Regions from separate parts of the Homo sapiens genome. Here all the other regions are linked to region 5. The links are contacts of gene promoters, found by promoter capture Hi-C in human tissues and cell types (Jung and others, 2019). All regions are on one chromosome and are shown on one strand. The core of a region is centred on a gene start or on the middle of the fragment in contact, and the rest is flanking DNA. Distances in the headings are between cores, read along the strand shown. Region 1 overlaps GALNT13 (polypeptide N-acetylgalactosaminyltransferase 13). Region 2 overlaps GALNT13 (polypeptide N-acetylgalactosaminyltransferase 13). Region 3 overlaps GALNT13 (polypeptide N-acetylgalactosaminyltransferase 13). Region 4 overlaps GALNT13 (polypeptide N-acetylgalactosaminyltransferase 13). Region 5 holds the start of GALNT13 (polypeptide N-acetylgalactosaminyltransferase 13). Region 6 overlaps GALNT13 (polypeptide N-acetylgalactosaminyltransferase 13). Region 7 overlaps GALNT13 (polypeptide N-acetylgalactosaminyltransferase 13).

Region 1 (2,700 bases), core at 89-2,588, 310 kb after region 5:
ACGCCTGTAATCCCAGCACTTTGGGAGGCTGAGGCGGTTGATTGCTTGAGCCTGGAAGTTCAAGACAAGCCTGGGCAACATAGCAAAACCCCACCTCTACAAAAAAATAAAAACATTAGCTGGGTATGGTAGTGCATGCCTCTAGTCCCAGATACTTGGGGGACTGAGGCAGGAGAATCACTTGAGCCCAGGAAGTAAAGGCTGCAGTGAGCCATGATCATGCCACTGCACTCCAGCCTCGGCAACAGAGTGAGACCCTGTCTCAAACAAACAAACAAATTGAAAAAAACTTGTCAATTTTGATTCTCTTTTCAAAAAAAAAAATTCTTAGTTTCATTTTTCTTTTGATTGTTTTTCTAATCTATTTCATTTATTTCTGCTATTATCATTACTATCTTTACTATGTTTTTTCTTCTGCTAATTTGGGGATTAGTATTCTTTTTCTAGTTCTTTGAAATGGAAAGTTAAGTTTATTTGAAATTTTTCTTTATTCTTAATATAGACATTAATTGTTATAGACTCCACAGGGTCTTGCTGTGTTGCCAAGGCTGGCCTCAAAGTCCCAGGCTCAAGAGATTCTCACTTGTTATAACCTTATCATGAATTAACCCATATATTATTTGAATTTATAAATTTATAATATATTTGAACTTATAAATTTATAATAATACATGGGTAAAATATATTATACGAATTTACCCATAGATTATTATAGAATAACCTTCTTTATCTCAATTGTGACAGGTTTTGACCTATAATCTATTTTTTATATACATATACCTGCCTCTTCTCACTTTTTGTAACTCATAGAATATGCTGTTTTACCCTTTGCTTTCAACCTTTGTGTGTACTTAAGAATAAAATGAGTCTCCTGGATACTGTTTTTAATCCATTCAGTGACTCTCTGTGTTTTGATTGAATAATTTAACTTCTTTATACTTGAAGTAATTATTGATTGAGAAGGATTTATTATTGTCATGTTAATTGCTTTTCTGTTTTTTAATTCCTTTGTTATTTTTTTCCTATCTTGCTGTCTTCCTTTGTGATTTTTTTCTTTTCATAGTGATATACTTTGTTTCCTATTCTGTATCATTTACAGTTTCCTCTTTGTGATTATCATGTGTCTTAGTCTGTTTAGTGTTGCTAAGAATACCTGAGGCTGGGTAATTTGTAAAGAAAAGGGATTTATTTGGCTCATGATTATGCAGGCTATATAAGATGTATGGCAAGAGAGAAAACAAGAGTAGGGAGTAGAAGTGCCAGGCCCTTTTTAACAACCAGCTCACACCAGAACTTATAGAGCAATAACTCACTTATTACTGCAAGGACAGTGCCAAACCTTTACATTTTTTCATATAATATATCATTTAAAAAGTTATTGCAGCTCTAGTTATTTGTAATACTTTAATCTTAACTTTTATATTAGAATTAAAAGTGATTTATATACCACCATTAGAGTATTAGAATTTTCTTAATTTGATGGTATACTTACCTTTGCCAGTGAGTTTTATGCCTGCATATGTTTTGATGTTGGTAATTAGTATCTTTTCATTTTAACTAGAAGAACTTTCTTTAGCATTTCTAGTAAGGCAGGTCCAGTGATGATAACCTCCTTAGATTTTGTTTGTTGAAGAAAATAATTATCTTTTTATTTGACAGCTTTAGTGGTTATCAATTTCCTAGTGGGCAGTTATTTTCTTTAAGCACTTTGAATATGTCATTTCACTTTGACCTGACATGCAGAGTGTTGGCTGAAAAATTTACAGATAATTTCATGAAGTTTCCTTTGTTTCTGATAAATTGCTTTTCTATTACTGCTTTCAAAATTCTCTCTTTGTCTCTGACTTTTGACAATTTGATTATCATATGTTTCAGTGAAGATGTCTTTATTCTCAACTAATTGGAATTCTTTGGGCTTTATCAACCTAGATGTTCATTTCCCTATTTGTATTTGAAACGTTTTTTGTCATGAATTATTTAAATAAGCTTTCTACACCTTTCTCTTTCTCTATCCCTTCCGAGATTCTCATAGTATACATATTAATTCACTTGATAGTGTACCATAAGCCCTATAGGTTTTCTTCACTTTTTTATTGTTTTTACTTTTTGTTTCTTTGACTGGATAATTTTAAATTATCTGTCTTTGTGTTCTCTGATTCTTATATTTGATTAAATCTGCTGTTAAAGTTCTCCATTGACTTTTTCAGTTCAGACATTATATTTTTTAGTTTCAGAATTTCTATTTTTTTATAATTTTTATCTCCTTGTTGAACTTCTCATATTGCTCACTTATTGTTTTCCTGATTTTATTTAGTAATCTATAAGTTATGTTTCTAAATGATTATTTCTAAATGATTACCTACAATGAAGAATCTGACTCCATATCAAGGTACTTTCTATACTCTGCCGTATTAAAATGTATTGCCTAGCTTGTAGTTCAAATGGATATTTTCACTCATGCTAAACTTTGTAATATTATTTACTGTTCATTTGGAAAATATTTTTTACTTAATTATTACAGTCTTCCAAATATAGCATATTTCATATTACACTAGTTGGTAGTTTTATGTCATAAAATTACATTGGCTAATAGCATCACCAATCTCATCAGAGAATTTTTTTTACACATTGTAATGCTTTCAAGCTCAAGGTGAATGATACAAGTATTCTTAAATTGTAATTTTTGTTTAAAATCTTGAA
Region 2 (2,700 bases), core at 128-2,627, 460 kb after region 5:
AGCTCTGGAAGCAAATGCCCAAGGCAGTCTTTATTAAGGAATAAATTCATTTGACTGGTTTGAATAATTTGAATAGCAATGTGCTGTCTCCACGTGATCTATTTCAGGCTTTAATGCTGTTGTACTGGGTTGAATAATTTACAGAAAACATTTGAAGCTATTAGCTCTGGCATTCAAAATACCATGCTTCTCATACATGGATAGCAATCCAGACACACTTAGCCTCTGTATCTTTATATACCCTTATGACCTTGTCTTTTATCTCAAAAAAGTAAAAAGGAAAAACTGGAGGAGAAAAGAATTGAGGTTGTCCTTGAGTACATGTGTTTTATAAGAGACAGAGAGATTGTGTTTTCTACCTCTGCTGAGCCTAAAAATAACAAACATAAATGCTGACCTTGAGGCCAGAATGTTCAAAGCTTGGTTTTTACAAGAGTTCCCTAGTTTTGATAAATTCTTGAATCTCAGTGAGTCTCCTCAGCAACATCTGTAAAATGGGAACTGATTCTGCCCCTTGCTATCCCACAAAAAAAAATTGAGTATCTAACCAGGTAAGATGTTAAAAAGACATGATGGGTGGTCTATAAAGCCCTCCTGCATGGTTTAAAATGAAATTAAAAAAATAATATTCTTTATGGGACCCATTTGTCTACACACTGAATGCTGAAACCACAAGTTGAGGAACCTCTTTATAAGACACCTACCTCTTCTAGTTTTTCACCCAGCAACAAATCTCTCCAGAACATGAATCTGTCTTCCGGCTATGTGAGCTGGTTGCCCTGTTTACAAACTTGCCAGTAGCTGTGGCCAGTGCCTCCTCTTTCCCAGAGAAATGTTACTGATTGAGCAAAGTTATGAAATGATATTTAACTCAATCCTAAAGGCAAATGCTGAAAAGCCATCAGTTTTCTTATGTGATAAAAGCAAATGAATGAAGAATAAGAAATCTATCTTCTCATGTACATATTTTCACTACTTTCAGTTATCTGAATGTTTTGTCGTAGAAACACAAAAAACCCATAGGTGTATGCCTCTTGGAAGCTTCCCTACACATCATATCTCCTTTTCCTAATTTTTCCTAAGTAGAATTAATCACTTCATTCTCAGTGTTTCTGGAGAATGCTTCTGTAGAGTTACCTTGGTTTTCAAATGTCACATGGCTTTAGAATGACCTTTTGATGAGCCTACCTTCCCCCCAATTAAGGAATGATTTCTAGGAGCCCCATCTTTTTCTTTCTGTATTGCCAGGACCTCCTTAGCCCTGCACCTGTGACTCAGTAGAGCCTAAGGACACCTAGAGGTTAGAAAATAAATACAAGAATTTTCAGTGATTATCACTGATATTGGAGTTATAGTTGTATTCGAAACTATATATAAATGTATACATATATGTAAAAAATACATAAATGTTTTTCTAAGTAGAGACATGTTTTATAAAAGAAATATGAATTATTAAAATAGTTAAATATTTTATTGATTATACAAAGTGATTCTGTAGCCAGAGATTCTAGTCCTGCGTTAAAGAACATGTATAACTCTTTTATCTAGAAAGCTTTATTCTTTGAAAGTAGGAAACTCAATTACATTATTGGGTTTGAAATAATGATGTTTCTCATTCGCCATTTGTTGAACAAAATAATTGATGAAAGCAAAAACAAATTGCACATCTTCAATTGTGTAAAACATTTTCAATGACTTGTCTTTCCCCTATTTTATATTAATTTTTAATTCACTTGAAATAGCAATGAATTCTTTATACCTGTTTATAAAAATGGTGAAAATGTTTCAAAATATCAGTTGGGCAATGACTAATAGCAATTATAAATGCACAGCTCTTGCTATTGTAAAGGGAGTTGGCAGCTTATCCCTCCTCCTAGACAAATTAAAATGATGACTATTTCTCCCTGTTAAGAGAAAATGTAGTAGTTCTACTAAATCTGCAAGTGGCAGCTCGTGCTTCATTTGAGACTAGGCTTTTGTTTTTAACAAATGAAAATAATCCAGTGTCTTTGCTTGGATACTAATCGTGGAAGATAATGTCAAACTGGCCTATTTCTACAATTGTCGTAACTTGCAAAGCTTCACAGACAGCTGAGTTCATTATGTTGAAGTTGTCAATCACACAGGCAGTCGTTTATATTCCTTTTGAACTCTGTTATGTTACCTCATGGATGACTTTTTTTCTCTTCTCTTTTATATGATGTTAAAACATTCCATTCTATCTCCTTTACAATTGACATTCTAGAAAATACCCATAAGATTTTCTTTGCCTTAACAGAGAAATACAATACTTTGTTCATTCAACTAATGTTAGAGATATGATTCCTTAGGCTAATCTCAAACTTTTGAAATCCCATTTTACTATTACATTGAGAATTTCTTTCTACCTGCCTTATTAAAAACTATAGGATGCAATAGCATTCGACACCCTGTAAATTCATTATAAATTCACATAGCATTCACCAAGATAACTCATTTATATCTATGAAATCAATAGACAGCCTTTAAACTAAACTGGAACTGAAAGTATTATCAATACTACAGAAATTTTTAAGCTGTAAATATGATGGAGAGAGCAATGTTGAATAGCTGATGTGGGTTTTTAGTTCTGATCATCTAACCTCCACTACATCAAAACAGTTTTGTGGGGTCCCCATTTCAGACAAAGGCAGTAACCACTTATTTGCTTGCATCAGAAAA
Region 3 (2,700 bases), core at 69-2,568, 390 kb after region 5:
TGATACCCAAATAAAATAGTGATAAAATGAACCAAGAAAATTATGAATTACCATCAAAAAGTATCCTCTATCTTTAAATAATAACCGTGTTTCAGGATAAGTATCAACCAACAAGCATCACCACCAAAAGTCCTTGTCTTTTATAAGCAATATCATGGGGAGCAGCATTCCCAAGAGTACAGATCATTTTGCCCATTCTAAAATGAAGAAAACTGCCACTATCCAATCAACTCAGAGCATGGGAAAAAATAAATAAAGGAGCTTGATGACAGCAAAGGACACAGAAATCTGTCTCACAGCCATGAATGGTTACAAGTATGGACTGGGATTCAGATAGCCTGCATTCAACACCCAGCTCTGGCACTTACCATCTGTGTAAGCTTAGGTAAGATAGCACATATTCTAAGCTTTAGTGTGTCCATCTCTAAAACAGAAAGATAACAGTACTTTCCTCATTTTTAGAGAAAGATTAAATGATATTATGTATATTGTGCTGAGTACTCCACTCAGCACATAGTGTGTCATTCATGGCAGCTGTTGTGGTGATTGTTATAAGCTGTGCAACTCTGGGCAAGTCATAACATTCCTGAGAATCACCTAAAAACAATCTTACCTTTAATAATTTGGCTTTGATCATGGTTAATCACAAGAGAGAATGTAGAGAAAAAGTCATTTAAACCCAGAAATGCAATATACATTAAAGTATAATTATACTAAGTGTTAGTTGAGATGTAGTTCTAAGGCTCCCCTGCTCAAAAAATATATTAAATTTTAAAAAGGAAAAGAAAAACCACACACAAAAAAATACTTTTTATACTTCCACAACATCATTGGAGTTAATTACTGACATCTAAGAATCTAGGGTGGAAAACATTTTTCTACACTCATAAATCAGTTGGAATGAAACAGTTGTTAATTTTTAAAAGTATGTATCATCTAGACTTGGAGTAACAAGTACTAGATTTACCATTCTCCTCGTCATTCACCTGAATAAATTAAAAAATGGACAAAAATACATGAAATAACACTTTCAAGACATTGAACAGCAGTCACCCTGAGAGATGGGAAACAAACAAGGAAAGCCTTACAATTGCCTCGGCTTACTGCCTTGTGAAAGTTTCTAGGCCTTAGTGATAAAAGGGCTAGATACTGACAGACTCCATGACTTGAGGAGATGAAGCTGAGTGTTTGGGGAGACCAAGCCCGCTGGAATTTGGTGAACAGAGTAATGGAGTCCTGGGCAGAGCATTGAAGAGATATACAGAGGTTTCTGTGGGAGTATTCAGCTGTGTCTTCACAAGTGTGTGAGGAAACAATCCAAGTCTGAGGAAAGAACCTTCAGAAAAGGTTAGAGGTCTCATTGCCCAGTGATGACTCAGGAAAGTCAATAGTACCTGTATCCTCCAGACAGATTGATTCATGAGGTAAGGGGTAGAGGAAATATTGAGAAACTACATAACATACTTCTTAAAAACCCATGGATAGTCTGGATGTGGTGGCTCATGCCTGTAATCCCAGCACTTTGAGAGATCGAGCAGGCAGATCACCTGAGGTTAGGAGTTCAAGACCAGCCTAGCCAACATGGTGAAACTCTGTCCTTACTAAAAATACAAAAAAAAAAAAAAAAAAAAATTAGCTGGGCATGGTGGTGGACTCCTGTAATCCCAGCAACTCGAGAGGCTGAGGTAGAAGAATCGCTTGAACCCAGGAGGCAGAGGTTGCAGTGAGCCGAGATCATGACACTGCACTCCCGTCTGGACAACAGAGCGAGACTCTGTCAAAAACAAACAAACAAACAAAACCCACAGATTAAAGAACAAGTAAAATTACCACTATTTGGAATGTAATGAAAATGAAAACATAGCACATCAAAATGTGTAGTGACACTAAAGCAAACTTAGGAATTATTTATAGCACTAAATGTCTATATCAGAAAAGAAAAAAAAAAAAAAGAGGTAAAATCAATGACCTTAGCTTCCACCTTCAGAAACTAGAAAAAGAAGAGTTTTTATGCCAAAGTATCTAAGAAAAAGGAAATAATAAAGATAACAGCAGAAATAAATGAAATATAAAAGGAATATATATAATATTCCACATATATGATACCTATATGATAAAAAAAAATATATATATATGGAAAAGCAATGAAACCAAAATTTGTTTCCTTGAGATCAATAAAATAGATGATATTTTAGCCAAATATGGGAAAAATAGAGAGATGACACAAATTATCAATTTTGGAAATCAGAAAGGTGGCATGACCACCATGTATTCTACAGATGGCTAAAAGGATTGGAATGGAACATTATCATTCTCATTATGCCAATAAACTTGACAACTTAGATAAAATGGACAACTTCATTAAAAGATACAAATTATCAAAGCTCACAGAAAGAAAAAATAGACCAAACAGCCCTGTATCTAGTAAATAAATGAAATTTATTCTAAAAATTTATAATTTTTAATACTTTAAAAATAATTTTTACAAAGGAAACTCAATGGCCAGATAACCTAACTGGTGAACTCTACCAAATGTTTTGGGTAGAAATCAGAAGAGTTCGGGCCAGGCTCAGTGGCTCATGCCTGTAATCCCAACACTTTGTGAGGCCGAGGAGGGCAGATCACCTGAGGTCAGGAGTTGGAGAACAGCCTAGCCAACATGATGAAACCCTGTCTCTACTAAAAATACAAAAATTAACC
Region 4 (2,700 bases), core at 67-2,566, 330 kb after region 5:
AGGGTAAGTAATCTTTTATCTGAACTCTTTCTTGAATTTTCTAAGACTTATAATAATCAAGGTTTGGATTGAAAGCATAATAAATTATTCAGAGATGCATTATATCCTTGATTTTATAATTACCGAGCAAGAATTCCAGAGATATGCACAGTTGCATGTTCCATATAGACTCCTCAGAAATCATACCTTCAACATAAGTAAAATAACTTCCACTAGTAATTTATTTATTTTTTGTGAGGGATGGGGGGATTAATTCTTAAATATTAAGGCATTAAAGTTTCTACAAATTGTTATCCCTGTAAGATTTCATTTTAGGAGTCATGAAGATATATTGGGTAGTAAACATAAAATTATATTTTGTCTTTGCATATTCAAGTCAGTCCTCTAAGTGTGATTGTCATTTAACTTATGTAATGCATAATTTTTCTTATCTCTTTCGAGATAAGAAAAGAATTTCAATAGAATTACTGCATTAACTATGGAGATGGGGTGGTGATTAAGGGGAATATCCCACCAAAGATATGAACTGTGGTCTGGTAAGAGTATGGCAAGAGGAATAGAAGAAATGCCACTACATTACTTTTAATGCATTTCCCATGAAGATTGTCTTAGTCTGTTTGTAAAGCTATAACAAAATATCATAGACTAATTTATAAATAACAGAAATTTATTTCTCACCTTTGGAACTTGGGAAGTTGAAGATCAAGGTGCTGTCAGGTTCAATGTCTTGTGAAGGTCCTGGTCTCCACTTTCAAGATGGCAGCTTGTTGCTGCATTATCTGGAAGAGAGGAATGCTATGTCCTCACATGGCAGAAGGTAGAAGGGCAAGAGGGCCAAGTATTGTGTGAAGTCTCTTTTATCAGAGCCTTAATCCCATTCACAAGGGAGGAGCCCTCATACCTGATCACCTCTTACACACCTCACCTCTTGCTACTATCACATTGGCCATTAAATTTTAACACCTGAATTTTGGAGAGGACACATTCTGACTATGGCAGAGATTAAGCTGTAAAACTTGACTAACATACATGATGAGACAGTTCATCTATTAAGATTTATTTTGAACTGAAGAGGCTTTGGGAACTAGCCTAGAAAATGTATATCTTATATAATTTTGTTTTTCCAAGAAAATGCAATTCTATTTTACAACAATTAAAAGAACTTTAAGAAAATACTTTTGGAATATTATCAGTTCCTACATTTGAAGTCTCTTTATATGTATATGTGTGTGTAGTCACATCAAGTGGTATATATAATATGCTTTGTATTAGTTTGTAAGAGCTATTATCAAGTTCAGCTAGCCAACTGAAGAAATTGTGGTCAGCCTACAAAGAGTTGTCATGTGTATTAATAATGTAATCTGAATGACTGCAGAGTGATGAAATTATACTGTTAGTAGTTAATAAAGACAATAGAAAGTCTTCCATGAATGTGTATTCATGACAGCATGAGAGAATAATTCTGTCTAGTTACACTTTGAAATCCTGGCATGTCATAGAAGCTTTGTTTGATTTGTTGCTGTTGCTTTCTTGACAGAAATTCAATTTAGGGAGAAACTCTGAGACCAACGCATCTCTTACCTGTTTTGTGAAGCATGGCATTGAATACTGTCTTATACCTATTAGCAATCATGGCAAGAAGACATTAGTAACGATGACACACATGCATAGCATCACCTTCTTACTTTATTTAAAGTGTCATGCGATTGGGCCCCTTAGATAACTGTTTCAAACAGGTTTAGACAATTTTGCAGTTTAAACATACAGAGGCTACCAAAACCACTGACCATAAAATGTTGTTCTTTAGATCACATTTTTTAAAAAGTATCCTTGGTTATCTCCTCTTTTCAAAGGCTTCCTTTATCTTCATTTTGTTTTGATAATGGTAAGAGTTAATTCTAAATGTTTTTGCCATAAGCATGTGTGTTTGGGAATTCTTTGCTTTTTACTTACAGAACAGGCATCTAATTGAGCAAGTATGTCCCAAAAGATAGATATGTGTCTGGCAGTGCTTGCCCTTCACCTAAGTCCTTGTTCCATTAGAGTGACTATTATTGACAGACAGCACCATCTTTGATTCTTCCTTGATGCTTCAAGACTCAGCAAGAGTCACCTAATTTTATTATTGCTGTTTACAATTTGTCCCTTGACAATTACATTTTTACAACTAAGACACATTGATGAAGATAACTTTCTGGCATTTATACTGCTTACCCTTTGATTTAATTCAATCCAAAATACTTTTGTGAAACACCTACTTTGTGCCTGGCTGCAGGCAAGGTTGCTCTCTGTCTAGCAGGGGAGAAAAATAACTATATTATAGAAGAATAATGCAGACATATGTAAGATGTTAATGGAGTGTCTACTGTGGAAAAGATAAAAACTTTTGCTTTCATGGGAAGGGGCTAGATTGGGGTATTCAGGAAAACCCCTGTAAGGTAATATTTGATCTAGATTTTGAAAGATATATGTATTTTAATTACATATAGTAAGTACTGTATGTTCCCTGATGAAGTTCTATTTTTCAGGGAATGCTGCTGCACTTAGCGTCCTTGAGATCACACTTCTACTTTTGGATTAGTAGAAACATGAATGGAGGTAGCATTTTTTAAGGCACATATTCTTAAGTGGACACTTTACAGATTATGATTATGACTCTCAGTATCCTCTTTCTTTAGCCATGGGCCAGGGAGCCAGGGT
Region 5 (2,700 bases), core at 178-2,677:
AGAGAGCAGTAGAGAGACATTCCAGAGTGTTATGAGTGGGACCCTGTGTACTCACACATGCACAGAAGCATCTCTGGTAAATGCTCCATAATTGACGGTAGGGCAGGATGGACAATGTAGGAGGAGACATTAATACAGTTATTAACATAGAAATTTAAATGATACTTGACTCACGAAAAGATATAAAGATAATATCTCTGGAAATTGCCTTTCATGAGTATAATCAAGAATGGCATTGACATACTAGATTATGATTAATAGTATCATATGTTTGTCAAACGTGGCTGTTTAATATTTTTATGTAGTCGTTATATCCTCCCCCAATTCTGCCAAAAACATCCTATAAGATGTGTGAAGTGACACTGTGAGAAGCAAGGACCCCTGTCAGCCCTTATTACAAACAAGACAACTGACACCCGAAGGGCCAAAACTAGCCAAGAGCCACAGTGAATAAATTGCCAAGCAGGCACTTGAACTCGGCAATCCCAATTTCCTAGAAAAGTTCCTCTCCCATGGCAGTGGGGGACAGGTCCCAAGTCTTTGAGACGCTAATAATGTCTGCGTCTTAGGTTTCTGCCTTGTGCCAGGCACTGTTCTAAAATCTTTACATGTATTTAAACTCAGTACCATGGGGGTATTGGTACAACACATTAACTGAGACATTCATACGTCCAGGTACTTCGGAGTGGGTGTGTGTTTAATATCATACCTACTTGCCTGAGAAAGGAATTCAAAGCCCCACTTTTTTCTTTACCTCTTCATAAAAATTTGAGAGCCACAAGGAAGCGCTCTGTGTTTCCAGTACTCTTACAGTGCGTTCGGTGGCAGTAGTCACCGCCAACCAGAACACTAGGATCCTGCCAGGGTGTAGATACTGTAACCAACAAGAGGCCAACCTCCGTCCTTTCTGCGGAGGGCGCCGAAGCGTCAAGTACCCCGCAGCATCTCTCGGCTGGAGAGCCGACGGCAAGGGTGGGGTTGCCGGCGCTTTCCCCGAGGGCAGTCTCTGATCCTCCAGCTCCCCTCTAAGAGGCTCCCTGGTGCATTGGGCGAACGCGGTGCACGCAGGCCGGCTTTGGCGTTGTGGGGCCCCAAAGCGGCCAGGGGTCGCGAGGCGCCCTCCGGCGAGAGGAGCTGACCCCAGGGTTGCTCTTGGGGGCCGTGCCTGCCAAGTATCGCGGGACTTGCGCACATCGCAGAAGCGCCAGCTCCAGAAGCAGCTGGAGCGCGCTCGGTGCGCACCGCCCCAGCCCGGGGAGGAGCGGGAGCAGGGAGGGAGGAGGGCTGGGGGTGCTGGTTACGTAAATGATACTAGCCCAGTGAGAGGCCTCCAGGCTGGGGCTACGAGAGGAGGAGGGACCACGCGAGGAGGAGGGACCGGGAGGCGGCGGGCTGGGGTGGGAGGGGGGCGGGGGCCGGGGAGAAGTGACCAGGCGGCGGCGGCTCTGCTGAGGTGACAACGTGCTAGCAGCCCTCGCTCGCTCTGGGCGCCTCCTCGGCCTCAGCGTCCGCTCTGGCCGCGCTCGAGGAGCCCTTCAGCCCGCCGCTGCGCTATGAAGGCCCCTCTCTGGGGCTGGCCGAGGCTGGAGCCGGCTCCCTCTGCTCGCGGGCAAGTGTGAAGAGAGAGGCGCGGGCGGGAGCCGGGGCTGCGCGCGGCGCTCGCGGGCCGGCGCGGGTTCCAGGTGAGCGCGGACTCGGCGAGCCCCGCACTCGGCGCGGCCGGCCGGCGCCTGCTGGGCTTGATCTGAGGCTGAATCCCGTGTGTGGACCGCCGTTCCCTCTTCGCGGGATCGTTGGCCAGGATAGCAGGTCTCCGTCTCTTTCTCGCTTCCCCTCTTTTCCTCTTGATTGTCTGGGACGAGCTCCCTCTGGGCTGCCAGAGTGCCGGGGCTAGGTGCCGCAAAGTCCCGCGGCGAGTGCCGGGGCGCGGAGCCGAGCGCCCCGGGCCGGTCCCAGGGCAAAGGCAGGGGCGCGGGCGGACCTGGCGACGCGGCCTCCCGGGAGCTCCGAGTGCGCTCGCTTGCGGGGCTGCAGGTGTTGCGGGAGGACCGCGTGGCGCGGAACTTTCTGCCGCCGCCCACCTTCTGCTCTGCTTTTCTGGCTACCCCGGTGAGTTGTTGGTGGCGGGGGGGGGGGGGGGAGCGGCTCTGGCCCCCTCTGCGTTCTGGTGACGTTCCTCCGCGGGGGTGGCTCGGCCTCCAAGCCCAGACAACTTTCTCGCACCAGCTGCAGGCAGCCCCGGCTGCGTTGCGGGCGTTTCTACTCGACCCGACACCAGGCGCTCCCTGGGTCTTGGGTGTCTTCCTCGACGGTTGCCTTCGTATAGTGCCCCCTTTGCCTCGCTTTTTCAGAGTCCTCTTGCCTCTCATTCTCGCCGTGTGTGTCTCTGCCTCTGTTTCTCTTTCTGAGCCTTGGTCCCCTCAGTCCACACTCTCCGGCCATGTATCTGTTTTTTTCTCTTATTCTGTTTCCCTCTTTCTTTCTTGGGATATCTGTGTCCCTGTTAATCTGTCTTTCCTTTTGTCTCTCCGTTTTGCAACATTTGTTCTCTTTCTGTGTCTGCTTCTCGCAGCTTATCTCTGTCTCCCTCTGTCATCTCTCTGCCCCGTCTTCCCGAACACCAGCCCCGCGATCCCGAAGCGCCTTGGTTAGGGGAGCAAGCCCTGGCGCATCTAATGGGTATCTCCAGGTGCAGAGATT
Region 6 (2,700 bases), core at 27-2,526, 410 kb after region 5:
ATAGCAATAAAGAATATCTGTGTGACACTTAGTTTACAGTGCAGTTTCACACTCATTATTTTACTATGTCCTTACCAGAACACTCTAGATGAGTTCTTATTATCATCTTATTCTATAGTTGAAGGTTCTGAGCCTCAGATAAATTGTCATGTGCCTAGAAATTGGCAGGGCTAAACATCAAACTCACATCTCCTGACTCCAAGTCAGGAACCTTAATACGAGTTCAGGAGACCAAGGGCAAGGGTGAACTTCAGAGAAGAGGATTGACTTTCTTTCCTAAAATGGAAAGAAGAAACTAAGGATATTTGAGACATTTCGAGGTAGAAATGAGTAGAAAATCAGGTGAGCTCTTTTTGATCTCAAGGAAAGTGGAGGCAAGAGATTATTTTCAGAGAAGATAGAATTTATATGGAGCTTGATAACAGGTGAAAATTTTGGATTAATCACAGCTTCTTCAACAAGCATTTGAATGAGCATTTGATGTTCTCTATGGAGCAACTTTTAAATTTCACAAGAATAACATTTTGAAGTACTAGTGTACCAAGGAAATTATCTTTACTGGACTTTAAGCATCATATCTAAAGAAATAAACTTTGCACTCCCCTCTCCTTGTTTGTGACTGACAAGTTAGCAAAGCAATATGCCAAATGTTGCTATTTCATGGTTATTTCTTTACTCTTCTAAAGTGTAATGTAACCTTCATTGACTATTACCAATTAATTTTTTTAATAAAAAACTGTCAAAAGTAGAGTATTAATTTCCTTCTTAGGATGTTTGTGGGTTTCTTGAATAAGTACTTGAGGTGACATTAACATGGATATTTTTAGGTGTTTCACATTGGTTCTTGCCAAACTCTATATAGCAAAAAAAAAAGTGCCTGTAAGATGAGTTTTGAGAGGTACTCATATTTTCCATTGACAGCATTAGAATTTTAGATATGCCCCCTAGGGAAAGTACTTATTTGAAGCAAAACTTACAGCTTTAAAAAATAATGTCTTAGGTTCTTGACTAGAAACAAAATGACTCTAGCTGATTAAAAGCCAGGAGAAAGGCATCCTGTCTATCACGATGGTGGGGGTGAGAAACTCTCAAGTCCCCTTCTTGTAAGCATGAGAGACTGTTTATTTATTTATTTCACTGTCAAATGCAAACTGATGACTAGACTTTAACTTTAATATGCCCAGTTTTGACATTCACAACTAGACTGGCCTGTAAGCTACTAGAGAGCTATGTATTATTATTATTCTTTTTCTATGCCCCAGAGCCCAGCATTGTGCTTGACAACACACAAAGTAATTGGCTAATATATATTTGCTGAATATATGCCAGCCAGGATCTTAGAAAAAAATTCTCAAGAGGAGACAGGTTGTCCTATTTCCTCAAATTTATCACAATTCTCTACATTTGGGACACACATGACCACTTTACAAATTACACAGGAAATTTAATTGAAACTGAAATTCTGTAACTCCAATTAGGAGAGGTGGACATTTACAGATGGAGAGACTGAAGGAAAACTTTTTCTGAGCTACCAGGTTTTCTTTTCCACTCAAGTTCTTTTTATGTATTGCTGGCATCTGTGAAAGAGCAAGAGATGCCATATATTGCAGCTGGGTACCCAGGTGGTCTACTGATATTCAAAGGGGACTGGTTTGGCATGAATTCTAGGGCAGCGTCACGCAGCTGTCATGAGCCACTCTGTGGCTAGAAGCAGCAGATGTTACTGATATCTGAAAGGCAGTCACATCAGACATGGGAGAAGACCAATGTAAAATGCAAGGTATCTGACCTACATATCATTTAAGAAATCACACACATTTTCCATTCAGTTTTCAAATTTACATCCACATACAATTTTTTTCACAGTTGAGAGTAATTGATAGGCTTAATTATACAACGAGGAAAACAAAAATTCCAATAATTCTACTTTTGTCTTAATAATCACTTAAATATACTGAAAATACTTTCAAAGCCTCCAGGATGTATTATACCTTAACATTATTAATTATTAAAAGATGAAAAAGTGTTACTGTATCATATATTATTTTTGTTTCCTTTCTTCATGAGTTACTGTTTGAAACAATTTGTGCTCATAAAAAAGCAATGCTTGTTTATAATGTGAAAACCTAACCATTAATTTCTTAAGCAGAACCATCTTATATTATGTAGGATTTCTAATATCTGACAGATGGCCTTACATTTTTTATTTCTTGCCTGTTATATTCATACATTTTATTTACACAGAGAACGGAAGATTTGCCACAATACAATCAGAACCATGTGTTGTATTGTTGATCTAAAGGACAATTGGGATTTTCTGAAATATCAGCAGCCCTAATAAGATGTGGAGTAATGACATGTAACAATTTTTCTGATTCCAGAAAACACAAAAGCCATAAAGTGTGGTGATCAATCCTAAAGGTCAGAAAACTCCAAGGCAAAGAAAGTTGTCGAAAGGCAAAAAGTGACAGTAGATTGTACATTAGGAAATGTTGGCATGAGTATTTTGGGGGTAGCTTCACTGTGTTTTTGAGCTGCTAGGAATGGGTTTCTGGTTTTGAGAGGAGTGGGAGATGAGATTAAAGGCTCCATCTGTGATCAATACCACTTCACCATACCTCTCACACACACCGGTTCATGCACATTTTGTTCTTAAACACATCCTCTCCTTCAACTCTACATTCAGTCTATACACACCTT
Region 7 (2,700 bases), core at 119-2,618, 350 kb after region 5:
TAAATTAATTTCCTGACTTTCTGTTCATTTTCACTTCAAATCTTAAAAATACATGTGCACATATGCATACACACATATTTCTGAAGAAAAGAAAAGTTATTTTAACTTACATATTTATATTATGAACTTGGGATAGAAGCTGTTAAAATCTTGATCTTGTACAAATTTTTTTTATCATGGGTTTATTATTTTGCAATGCCAGTAATAAAGCAAGTTGTCATAAAAGTAGTCAACAGTGAATCATCTTATAACAATCAAGGGAGTAGGTGATACTTATTAAATCCTAGTTTTTAAAGACATTATGCTAAGAAGGCCCATTGTTTATAACATTTAATTAATGAAAGATTGCAGAAGTTTGTAAAGTTTAAATAAGACACTTGTGCTTTAGTTTCTGGCCCAAATACTTGTCCTAATTCTCCAGACTGTCACCTTTTTGTTTTAGATGAGCGCAAAGAAATAATGGCATTTTATAGACAGACCAAATTAAATTATATTAATTTGTTTACTCACATTTTAAGCACATAGTGCACTGGGGCTTAGAAAGATAAAGGAATCATTTTCTCTGGACTCCAAAAGCTTCTAATAGGTTTTTACCACTTACCAATATATTAACCAATTCTTTCCACCTGCCAGAATATTCTAGTAATAAAATGCACAAATTAGTATTGTCAGTCAATTAACTTAGCTTTCTTGAATACAGGCTGTTACAGTACTTGTTGATGCAAACAGAAAAATGCAAAAATGAGAGCCTGCTTTCCTTATCATACGAATAATTATTAATAGAAATAGTAATGTTTATTTTTCATTGTTATATCATGTATATTGTATTAGACAATAATAATTTTTAAAGTGAATGATCCTCACCACTGTGTTCAAAGCCAGCATCTATTATTATTAGAATTCTTATTTGAATAACTCCTTGACTTAGTAATTCAACTAATTACATTGTTTTGTTTTGCAGGTAGATATTTCTTTTGACTGTTGGCTTGAGGTTGATTTTGTTCCCTAAAATTAGAATCTGTAATTATAGACTAATGTAACATTTGAGATCTAAGACAGCAGTGATCTTGAATTTGTAATAATTTGACAATCACAAGTGCAGTAGGTTCTCCTTAGAGAATGAAAGGCAATTCTATTTGAGGCTTCTAGTAACAGATTCCAAAGACAACTTGTTCCTTTCTGCAGGATATGGAAAAAGGAGTTAGAGTTCAGATACTAACCCTATTCATTACTCTTGAAATCTTCCTTCTGACATGGAAATTCTCTTTTAGAGCACAGCAATTGACATTCAAATGAAGTTTGTTCTTTTCCTCAATGAAAACATTACTTGTTTATCTTATTATGAAAATTCATTTGTTTTACCGTTCATTAATGTTTGAAATGGGGCACAGAGTAGGCTTTCCTTTTTCCCAAGACACCACACCACTGTAATTCTCAAAGAGAAATGGTGGAACCACCCCAACATTTCTCCAAAATAGTTTTCATTTCTTTTATAGTTGCTTGAATTCCAGCTCTATTTGTTATATTAGGAAAAACTTAAAATGCTATGGGTGGGTGCATTTTTCTAGCATTTCAGAAAATGCACCTTTTAAAAAATATTTTTTTCTCACCATTTATTCTTTACATACCATTGTTCCATTTCTGCCTGCTCTTTTTGCACAATTTACAGGTTGATCCACTCTCCTTAGGAAAGAAAGCATTGGGTATTTTGTCTACAGATCCTATGTAAGAAGTCTTACTGAAATCAAATAATCTAGATAAAATTTAAATTCCTAAAAGAAAGTTATAATATCTTCCACAATTAATAATACAAATTATTAGCCAATGAGGCAGATCTTTGAAATGTTTCCCTACTTTTCCTCATGAGTACTATTTTATTTTCATTGAAACTATATTCTGATCAGCCAATATCATGAAAGATAAAGAGGCTTTTATAAGAAAACTGAATAGACCTTAACAGAAAATAAAACAAAGTACCTTATATTATTTTAATCCCTAAAATTATTGTTGATAAAACACAGAATGAATTTTGACCTGGCCTATTCCTTTTGTTTTTAATCTGTTATTTGTTTCATAAAAGGTGAACTGTGTAGAACCTTTGCATTTTATGGGTACATTTCCCCTACAGTAGCTCCTAGACACCCTGAAGAGGCAAGGTCAGTGATTGGAGAATTCAGAGACTTGAATTCTGGTCAAAGCACAGCCTCTAGCTATTTATAATACTTTTGTCACATTATTTTCCCTGTTTGTGATGCACTTTCCCCATATGTTACCTCCTCAATCAGGGACGGGTTGAGGATTTATGCATGAGTTCATGGAGTAAGTTGGATTCGAAAGAGAAGCATCATTGAAGTGGTACCTGTGATTGGTGTCAACAAAAGAGAGACAAACTTTTTCTTTTTTAATTCTGCTTTATTTCAAAAGGATTTAAGGACAATATAAGCTATGCTGTTTAAATAAATAATGAAGTAGAATAAATTAAGAAAAAAATGCCAGCTCTAGTTCAGAGTTCACGTGTAGCAAGACAGGAATACTTGATTTAAACATGTAACTTCTATTTATTAAACCAAAAATTATAGCTCTTGGTTAAATTATTTGAAGATAGAATCTGGGATTTCTTTAGCATATAAAACTATAAAAGGGTCCACCTTTAGGTATGTAATCAAGTGGTCTTAAATCTTCAATATGATTTTAAAGGAG

Evidence for each region. The method cuts DNA at HindIII sites, captures the fragments that hold promoters and counts their contacts. A contact is called where the count stands out against the background at its distance.
Region 1: a contact is called between a fragment that was not itself captured here and the fragment with the promoter of GALNT13 in region 5, in 1 of the 25 tissues and cell types used here (mesendoderm cells).
Region 2: a fragment that was not itself captured here is called in contact with the fragment with the promoter of GALNT13 in region 5 in 7 of the 25 tissues and cell types used here (H1 embryonic stem cells, dorsolateral prefrontal cortex, hippocampus and 4 more).
Region 3: a contact is called between a fragment that was not itself captured here and the fragment with the promoter of GALNT13 in region 5, in 3 of the 25 tissues and cell types used here (mesendoderm cells, neural progenitor cells and thymus).
Region 4: a contact is called between a fragment that was not itself captured here and the fragment with the promoter of GALNT13 in region 5, in 1 of the 25 tissues and cell types used here (H1 embryonic stem cells).
Region 6: a contact is called between a fragment that was not itself captured here and the fragment with the promoter of GALNT13 in region 5, in 3 of the 25 tissues and cell types used here (mesendoderm cells, neural progenitor cells and stomach).
Region 7: a fragment that was not itself captured here is called in contact with the fragment with the promoter of GALNT13 in region 5 in 2 of the 25 tissues and cell types used here (mesendoderm cells and thymus).

What each region holds. Positions count from the first base shown.
Region 1 is chr2:154,183,448-154,186,147 of GRCh38, forward strand. All of the region lies in intron 4 of GALNT13 (polypeptide N-acetylgalactosaminyltransferase 13), which reads left to right. Among named protein-coding and RNA genes, the nearest start is that of GALNT13-AS1, 270 kb to the right of the region's middle. The HindIII fragment of the contact is 4,403 bases long and covers 1-2,700 here.
Region 2 is chr2:154,331,900-154,334,599 of GRCh38, forward strand. All of the region lies in intron 9 of GALNT13 (polypeptide N-acetylgalactosaminyltransferase 13), which reads left to right. Among named protein-coding and RNA genes, the nearest start is that of GALNT13-AS1, 120 kb to the right of the region's middle. The HindIII fragment of the contact is 4,798 bases long and covers 1-2,700 here.
Region 3 is chr2:154,262,856-154,265,555 of GRCh38, forward strand. All of the region lies in intron 8 of GALNT13 (polypeptide N-acetylgalactosaminyltransferase 13), which reads left to right. Among named protein-coding and RNA genes, the nearest start is that of GALNT13-AS1, 190 kb to the right of the region's middle. The HindIII fragment of the contact is 5,025 bases long and covers 1-2,700 here.
Region 4 is chr2:154,199,827-154,202,526 of GRCh38, forward strand. The region is part of intron 4 of GALNT13 (polypeptide N-acetylgalactosaminyltransferase 13); the gene reads left to right. Among named protein-coding and RNA genes, the nearest start is that of GALNT13-AS1, 260 kb to the right of the region's middle. The HindIII fragment of the contact is 3,044 bases long and covers 1-2,700 here.
Region 5 is chr2:153,870,495-153,873,194 of GRCh38, forward strand. GALNT13 (polypeptide N-acetylgalactosaminyltransferase 13) reads left to right here and starts at 1,428. Exons shown (of 13, transcript NM_052917.4): 1 at 1,428-1,809. The HindIII fragment of the contact is 9,874 bases long and covers 1-2,700 here.
Region 6 is chr2:154,279,077-154,281,776 of GRCh38, forward strand. All of the region lies in intron 8 of GALNT13 (polypeptide N-acetylgalactosaminyltransferase 13), which reads left to right. Among named protein-coding and RNA genes, the nearest start is that of GALNT13-AS1, 180 kb to the right of the region's middle. The HindIII fragment of the contact is 7,348 bases long and covers 1-2,700 here.
Region 7 is chr2:154,220,482-154,223,181 of GRCh38, forward strand. All of the region lies in intron 4 of GALNT13 (polypeptide N-acetylgalactosaminyltransferase 13), which reads left to right. Among named protein-coding and RNA genes, the nearest start is that of GALNT13-AS1, 240 kb to the right of the region's middle. The HindIII fragment of the contact is 6,248 bases long and covers 1-2,700 here.